Linked DNA regions of Homo sapiens: region 2 is linked to region 1. Evidence: promoter capture Hi-C in 16 types of primary human blood cells and fetal thymus (Javierre and others, 2016). All regions are on one chromosome and are shown on one strand. Each heading gives the region's core, a stretch centred on a gene start or on the middle of the fragment in contact. The rest is flanking DNA. Distances are from core to core; before and after follow the strand shown. Region 1 holds the start of ADSS2 (adenylosuccinate synthase 2). Region 2 overlaps SDCCAG8 (SHH signaling and ciliogenesis regulator SDCCAG8).

Region 1 (4,021 bases), core at 848-3,347:
GCCAAACTTAGTTCCTTCTCAATCACTTCTCTAGCCTTTCCAAGGGCATCAGATCAGGTTGGTCCATGACTTCAAGACTACTTTCTCGGTAACATTAGTAACACCTTCTCCAAGCTACAAACTACTTCTAATATTTCTCCATAGAATATTAAAATTGAGGATCCTTTAGAATAAATACCATAATGGTTGTGTTCTCCAAACCTTCTTACAACCCATAGTGTAGCTCAACCTGAGCTATTTCCATATTAACGAGATGTCAAGATGTCAGTGAAGGAGACACACAGGCCTCAGCCTCTCTCCCGCTGTCGACAGCAAGAAAGCTCGGTATTCGGATACGTCTTCCCCACAGCATGACCAGATCTGAATGTAAGACAAAAGGTAGGTAAAGGCTGGATTTCTGGAGTATTTCCTAAGAAAGTGCGGGGCAGGAATTTAATGGCAACACCCTGAAGATTGCTAAGGTACAAAGTGTGTTGCCAGAGGGGTGGAGAAATAATAGGCTGGAAGGGAAGGAGGGAGAGGTGGTAGTGACAGTTTCCTAAGAGGCAATTAGTGCAACAGCTATTTCAGAATGGGCAGGGTGGATTTCTAAATGAAAACAAAACAAAACGAAACAAGGTAAATCAGAGAATATTTGCAGTATTTGCATTTAGCTTTTTAACATACCTGTGATTTCATTGTTTCTGCATGCTCAAAATGGTATTCAAGGGGGCCTATAACTTACTAGAACATATACAGCATGGCACCATCATATCATGCCATGCATGTTCAAAAACAAATATTCTTGCAACCTAAACAGATAGCAGTTAACTTCAAATATTACATTATGCTTTGTTTTGAAAGTGGTTATTGCTCATCTGCTTAGAATTTTGAAACTGGAGAGAGTTATCTGAGAGCCTTTACAAAGGCCTTACCCTGTATGCTGCGTCAAAGGAAACGACAAATAGGAAGAAAGGTTACACTGAAAACCACGTGTCTCCCGTTAGAAGTACATTACCACCTCGTTTTCCGAAAGTTCACTTTCGATGTCACCTTAACAATGCAAATATTTATTTCCAAATACTCAATTTGACATCCATGTATTTACTTCCCTCACTTTTTTTGAACAGAGAAGGGATTCCTTCCTCTGGGACCAACTAGTAAAAGTAATTTCTCCTTAACTTTCATGTATGGAGCACACTGTAAAAACAAAAACAAAAACAAGAAACTCAGGGCCCTAAAACAACAGTCCAAAGCCCAGAGGTGGGTGGGTTTGGATGTCAACAAAGTGGACCAGAGGAAGCAAAGCACTGCATGCCACGGTCCTGCAGATGGGGGATCGGTGAGTCTGATTTCAGGACGTTTCGAAACAATCCACTCCCACTCCGCCGCCCTGGGCGGGGCGGGGGGGCGGTGATGGGGGGTTCTGCCGTCGCGCCGGGTCTCCGCCCGCAGTCGGAAGAGTTGGGAGCAGGCCTCGGGCGGTAGCTCCTCAAACTCGGACCGCATCCCACCTCCACCCCGGCCTCAGTCCCGGCGCTGAGCACCACTCGCCAGACGCAAAACTGCAACTGCCAGGCATCGCGCATCTCTCAAAGGCTCCCCGCCAGCCCACCTCTTCCTCCAGGGCCACCCCAAGTTTCACCCGACGCTCCAGGTCAGGGGTCCCCGACCTCCCGCCATTTCTCCACGTAGCCGCAGCTCAGGACAGGAGGAGAGAGCCTCAAGGTGACACCTCATTTTGGCCAGTGGATCCGGGTTCTGGGTCCGAGTTCCCGGGCACCAGGAGCCAGGCAGCCCGAGCTCCCGGGCCCGGCTTCCCATGAGAGGCCCCGTCGCCTCACCTGGCAGCGGCACACGATGTCGGCGTCCTGCGCCAGCAGGTCCACCACCTTCCCTTTGCCTTCGTCGCCCCACTGCGCACCGAGCACCACCGTCACCCGGTTTCCTCCGGGCCGCGCCCTGGGGCGGCCGCAATCGCCGTTGGGCAGGGAGGATGCCGCCGGGTAGGTCTCGGCGAACGCCATGGCTCCAGTGACGCGAGGAGAGCCCGAAGGAGAGGCGGCCGGCGAGGAGTGAGCGAACTGAACTGCTCTGCGGCCGCCAGCCACATGCAGAGGAAGAAGGAGCCAGAGGCCGGCCCCGCCCCCGCCCCGCCGGGCCGCCACCCTCCAGCCAGTCCCCGCCCCGCTCTCCGCCACAGCCCGCTCAAGGGGGTACCATGACTGCCCCGCGCAGGCCGGCCTCGGCAGCACCGCCCGCAGGAAGAGGCCCTGGTGGCGGCAACGGCCGCCACCCCGGACCGAGGCCACGCCCCTTCCGCGGCCTGGCGCGCCACTCCCGTGCAAACCTCGCGAGCGGAAAAGGTCAGGGGCGGGGCTTCGAGAGCGCTTCTCCTTCAGCACCCCGCCTACCCGCTCTACCTCTCGCTTTCAAACTGGAGAGGCGCGGAAGCGCGTGTGGAGCGTCGGACTACAAATCCCAGCATGCAACGCTCTGGGCTGCGGCGGTGTATTCTGGGGCCACTGTGTCTGCCATCTGCAGGTTTGTCTGGATTTGTCTTTATTAAGGAATGAATGTGTACAAAATACAAACTGTGGAATTTCGCAGTACAAACAGCATAAAATCGGAACGTGTAAGTGTAGAATTGGAAATTAAAAGTCCGGAAGTAACAGAGATGGGGACAGGGATCAAAAAAGACAAAATTCAAAAGTAAGGCAATAAGATAAAGGACATGAGACCTGAAATCAATAGATCAAATAAAGTCCTAATCCTCATTTTACATAGTAGTAACAAAGGCTCAGAGAGGAGGAGTGGATTACCTATGTCGCATATAGTACATATATGCAGATACCGTCATGCACTTCTTTATTTTTTAATCCCCACAACCATATAAGGTAGGTGATCCTCTATTATCCTTATTTTACAGGATTTAAAAGCTGGGTAACTTGCCCTAGTGAGGCTTGAATTGGTACTTCGATAATCTAAGTCCAGAGCCCATGTCCTTCCTGTAGATTCCACTGTCTCTCAGTTACATTTGTAACTAGATTCTGGTGTATACCTACTGTTCATCTAATGCCCTTTCGACACCAACACAAATTAACTATGATGTTTAATTCTGATAAAAGGTGCTTCGAAAAAAAGTGGGAATGGAATCACATTATATGTACCGTCTCCCAAATCGCCTGTACATACTGTATGTTCACTAATGGTCCCTAGAGTACACTTTAGTATTTTATTTCTAGTCAATGAGTTAAGTCAGGAACATTGAGAACCTGCTATTAACTAACTAAGTGTCCTGGGCACTGATAACATAGGAGAAATAAAGATACAATTCAGCCCTCAAGGATTCAAATTATTTGGTCTATTGATTAGTAAACAATTATAATACTATGTGATAATTGTTGTCTATCTTGGCCTTATTACAAGATCACAAACATTTTGGAAACAAGAATGCCATCTATTTCTTTCTAGTCAAATGCCCGAGGTAGTGTTGGGCAGATAGTAGATACTGAATAAGCACACCTTACTAGTCATTTCCATTCAATTTTTTAAAATCATTTATGGGAGACTGATTTGAGTAATAATAAAACTCTGGTTTCCTGCACAGCCAGCTCTACATGAATTACTCTTTCTCTATTGCCATTTGCCTGTCTTGATGAATTGGCTCTGTCTAGGCAGTGGACAAGGTGAACCCCTTGGGCGGTTACAAATTTGGGGGCTTGTCTGGCATTGCCTTTGTGGCTACCTACTCGTGGTTCAGTGGCCCCCCTCCAGCAATGGATCCAGAAGCCTGCCCAAGCGGCCACCCAGTTCTCTTGGACTGGGGGCTGACTCTGGTACTCTCTCTACTGGTGGGGTGCTGCCAACCCAGTGTGCATGGATTTAATTGCAATGGAGAAATAGCCCCGGGGAGACGTCCCTTAACTGTAACCCTATCACAGGGTGTCTGTCTGTAGCCCCATTGCAGGGCAGGGTGTCTGGATTGGTGAGTATCCTAGGTGCTGCCAACGCCTCCTTTCTCCCAACTGGTTCTGTAGCC
Region 2 (4,021 bases), core at 551-3,050, 1.1 Mb before region 1:
AAAGGTTAGGAGAGTAACAATGGCAGTCGCTTCCACCCACTTTCTTCTTTTCTTCTTTATATTGTGTCAGGAACCGATGGGCGGATTATCCTTCCCATCAACTCCTTTGTATCTCTTCAGCTTAGAGAATTCCTGTCAGCCTCAGAGGATGCTTCTTGCACCAGAAAAAGAGGCATTTGGTATGGAGGAGAATGTGAAATATGCTCTTTGATTTTTATGAGAAATTTTTTTAGGCAATGGTTATACACACACACACACTCGATCAGGGGAATTTAAAAACATGTATGAGGGTATAGGGAATATTGTAATGAGTCCTCACATTTCCATCACCTACACTCATCATTTTGCCCGTCCTCTTCCTCAGTCCTATTCCATCACTCATCATTTTGCCAGTCCCCTTCCTCAATCCTATTCCATCACTCATCATTTTGCCAGTCCTCCTCCTCAATCCTATTCCATCTATCTCACTTTTTTCTCTCTACTTCTGTCCTCATCGTCACCTTCATCTTCTTTGTCATGTTTTTTCTGCTCCACCTTCTCATCTTCATCTTCTTCTGTCTTCTTCCTCTACCTCTTTTTCTTCTTTTGCAGAAGTATTTTAAATGGATCTCAGACCTTATGTTATTTTACTCATAAATACCCATGTGGATCTATGAAGGATATTTTTACATACTATGTCATTATCATACCTAACAATGTTAACAATACTTCTTTAATATCAAATAACACCCAGCCTATATTCACATTTCTTTGTCTCAAAAATGTTGATTTTACAGTTGGTTTATTCAAATTAGGAGAACAAGTATGTTTTTGTATGTCCAATTTTCTGGTGTTACCCTTTTTAATAGGAAATAAACAGAACTCTTAGTAAAATTTCATCTTTCTTTGTTGTTGTCTGTTAAATTTTGTACATAATGTTTTGATTATGCTTTATTTTTATAAAATGCCTCATTGTCATTCTAAAGAGGTATAAATTAATCCTACAGCAAAGTATGTGAAGGAAATGGCTACCACGCAGCATTCCTGATAATCATATCCCAAAAGGAGCTTCCTCGCATCCGAAACCCCAAATTCAGCATTAATTTCACAGCCTTGTATTTAAGATTTGGACATGTTGCAGGAGGCCCTAACATGACAAGGATGAGCTGACCTGAAATGAGTGATGCAGAAATAGAGTTTTTTTGTCAACTTCCCTTTTGGTAAATTAATCTGAGAAGACGATTCTTTATAGCCGCTAACCTTTGATTAGGGCCCAGTGCAAAGTGAAAATACAGGACCCTTTTGTTCAGAAAGCAGGAAAGAAGTGATATTAAAAAGAACTAAAATATAAAACATTTTCCTTTCTTCTTCAGTCTCTCTCTCCTTGCCCCTCCTCCCTCACCAACCCAGGCTGGACATGCATTTTTTTTTTTTTTCTTTTTTTTTTTTTTTTAGGACGGAGTCTCCCTCTGTCGCCCAGGCTGGAGTGCAGTGGCGCGATCTCGGCTCACTGCAAGCTCCGCCTCCCGGGTTCATGCCATTCTCCCGCCTCAGCCTCCCGAGTAGCTGGGACCACAGGCGCCCACGACCACGCCCGGCTAATTTTTTTTTTTTTTTTTTTTTGTATTTTTAGTAGAGACGGGGTTTCGCCGTGTTAGCCAGGATGGTCTCGATCTCCTGACCTCTTGATCCGCCGGCCTCGGCCTCCCAAAGTGCTGGGATTACAGGCATGAGCCACCGCGCCCGGCCTGGGGCGGGAATTCTTACCTCCCTGTCCAGCTCTAAGATGGCAGGGATGGGCACACTTGACTCAATCCTCTCTAAACACACATTCAGGATTCTGCCAGGGGCAAAAGACACAGGAGAACACACACCTCCCCCAGTGACATACGCACCTCCCCCAGTGCCCTGGTCCCACCCTAGGTGGAGGGACCCACCCCAGCAGCAGGGCAGGGCGGGATAGAGGAAGCTGGAGAGGAGTATATTTCTGAGAACTGCGTAGGGCTGCAGTGAGGCAGTGGAAAGATGAGACCACATACAGGAGTTCAGTCTCCATTGTTCCATCAGAGTACACCTACAAAACACAATTCTAGCCGGGCGTGGTGGCTCACGCCTGTAATCCCAGCGCTTTGGGAGGCCGAGGTGGCGGATCACCTGAGGTCGGGAGTTTGAGACCAGCCTGACCAATATGGAGAAACCCCGTCTCTACTAAAAATACAAAAAAAAAAAAAAAAAATTAGCCGGACATGATGGCACATGCCTGTAATCCCAGCTACTCAGGAGGGTGAGGCAGGAGAATTGCTTGAACCCAGGAGGCGGACGTTGTGGTGAGCCGAGATCACGCCACTGCACTCCAGCCTGGGCAACAAGAGCGAAACCCTGTCTTGGATAAAAACAAAACAAACAAAACAAAAAAAAAAAAACACAATTCTAAGATACAATTGCTAATAATTTCAAGACATTGACCACAGAGTATTAAACTGCAAGTGTAAGGACCCTTCTGAACAGCACATGTGTGACTGCACTGATCACGTGCCCAAGAAACTGCCATAACCAGGGGGATGGGCAAATGGAGATTTTGCATACTAATATATGTGTATATATCCCCACTCACATATACAGACACATATGCATATTCAATATGCTAATGTGCCCAGTATTCATAAAAAAGTGTTAGCCAACTACAGCTCATAGGTCAAGTCTGGCCTGCTGTCTATGTTACAAATAAAGTTTTATTAGAACTCAGCCATACCTACTCATATATGTATCACCTATTGCTACTTCCTGCAACAACAGCAGAGTTGAGGAGTTGTGGTAGAGACCATATAGCCCACAAAGCCTAAAATATTTACTGTCTGACCCTTTACAGAAAAAGTTGCCAATCCCTACCTTGAGTATAGAAATACAACTGTATTTTTTAAGTTTCCTCTGACTTACTAGGATGCTGAGCTTTGAGTTTGAAGACCCATGTATCTTAAATAATAACAATGGTTTTAGAGTATTTTGCAGTATAACAAATGTGCCACATCTTTAGTCTCTTAAAAATCTAATGGCATTACTCAGCGAGTGTATCACTGATAATCATGGCATTTTCTTATTAGTGGCACATGACTTACTAGTGGCTTGGATGGGAGTGTAAATACCGTATGATTTTATATTTACAATTTTGTTTTTAGGTTGGTTCCAATTTTATTTTTCAGAGATAAGAAGGCTGATATAGAAAGCGTCTTTCTTTTTTTTTTTTTACCGGCATTGTATAAATTATAATTTTGGAGTTGTGGCTACTACTGAGTAGAAAACATCAAGTTTGAAATGACTTTAATGGAGCAATCAAAGCAAATATTCAGGGTGGGGTATCTCTGCAAAAGAAATAGATCCAAAAATTTTGGCTGGAAAAATGAGGGCAAAAAAGGATTTGAGGGTTGCTCATATCTACAGCAGTGATTCAGCACTTGGACACTGACATTAAGGATGGAGTGTAAGGACACAGGAATTATCGCCTAAATTCAGTTGAATTAACTAGACTGTTGGAAGAAGTGCATCTATATTGTATGGCTTTGTGTAAGGAGAAGAAGGCCTGCCTGCAAGCCCTAAAAGTCAGTCCTTTTTTCTTTCTTTTTTTTTTTGAGACGGAGTCTCATACTGTCGCCCAGGCTGGAGTGCAGTGGTGCAATCTCGGTTCACTGCAACCTCTGCCTCCCAGGTTCTAGCAATTCTCCTGCCTCAGCCTCCCAAGTAGCTGGGACTATGGGAGCACGCCACCACCCCCAGCTATTTTGTTGTTGTTGTTGTTTTTTAGTAGGGACAGGGTTTTACCGTGTTGCCCAGGCTGGTCTTGAACTCCTGAGCTCAGGCAATCCACCTGCCTCGGCCTCCCAAAGTGCTGGGATTACAGACGTGAGCCACTGCGCCCGGCCTATGTCAGTCCTTTTTAAAGTTAGAGAAATATAAAAGCAATAAAGAAAAGTTGAAGAATTGTACCTTTTACTTAGAGAAGACTTCAACATTGCTTCACATCTTCAAGGATTTGACAAATTATTTC

The links. The method cuts DNA at HindIII sites, captures the fragments that hold promoters and counts their contacts. A CHiCAGO score of 5 or more calls a contact.
Region 2: a contact is called between a fragment that was not itself captured here and the fragment with the promoter of ADSS2 in region 1, in 2 of 17 cell types (neutrophils and monocytes). The highest score is 6.1, in neutrophils.

What each region holds. Positions count from the first base shown.
Region 1 is chr1:244,449,812-244,453,832 of GRCh38, forward strand. ADSS2 (adenylosuccinate synthase 2) reads right to left here and starts at 2,098. Exons shown (of 13, transcript NM_001126.5): 1 at 1,824-2,098. The coding sequence starts at 2,006. It also overlaps a transcript of CATSPERE not described here. RefSeq lists silencers at 1,278-1,557, 1,998-2,487. The HindIII fragment of the contact is 6,677 bases long and covers 1-4,021 here.
Region 2 is chr1:243,346,622-243,350,642 of GRCh38, forward strand. All of the region lies in intron 12 of SDCCAG8 (SHH signaling and ciliogenesis regulator SDCCAG8), which reads left to right. Among named protein-coding and RNA genes, the nearest start is that of MIR4677, 2.5 kb to the left of the region's middle. The HindIII fragment of the contact is 6,251 bases long and covers 1-4,021 here.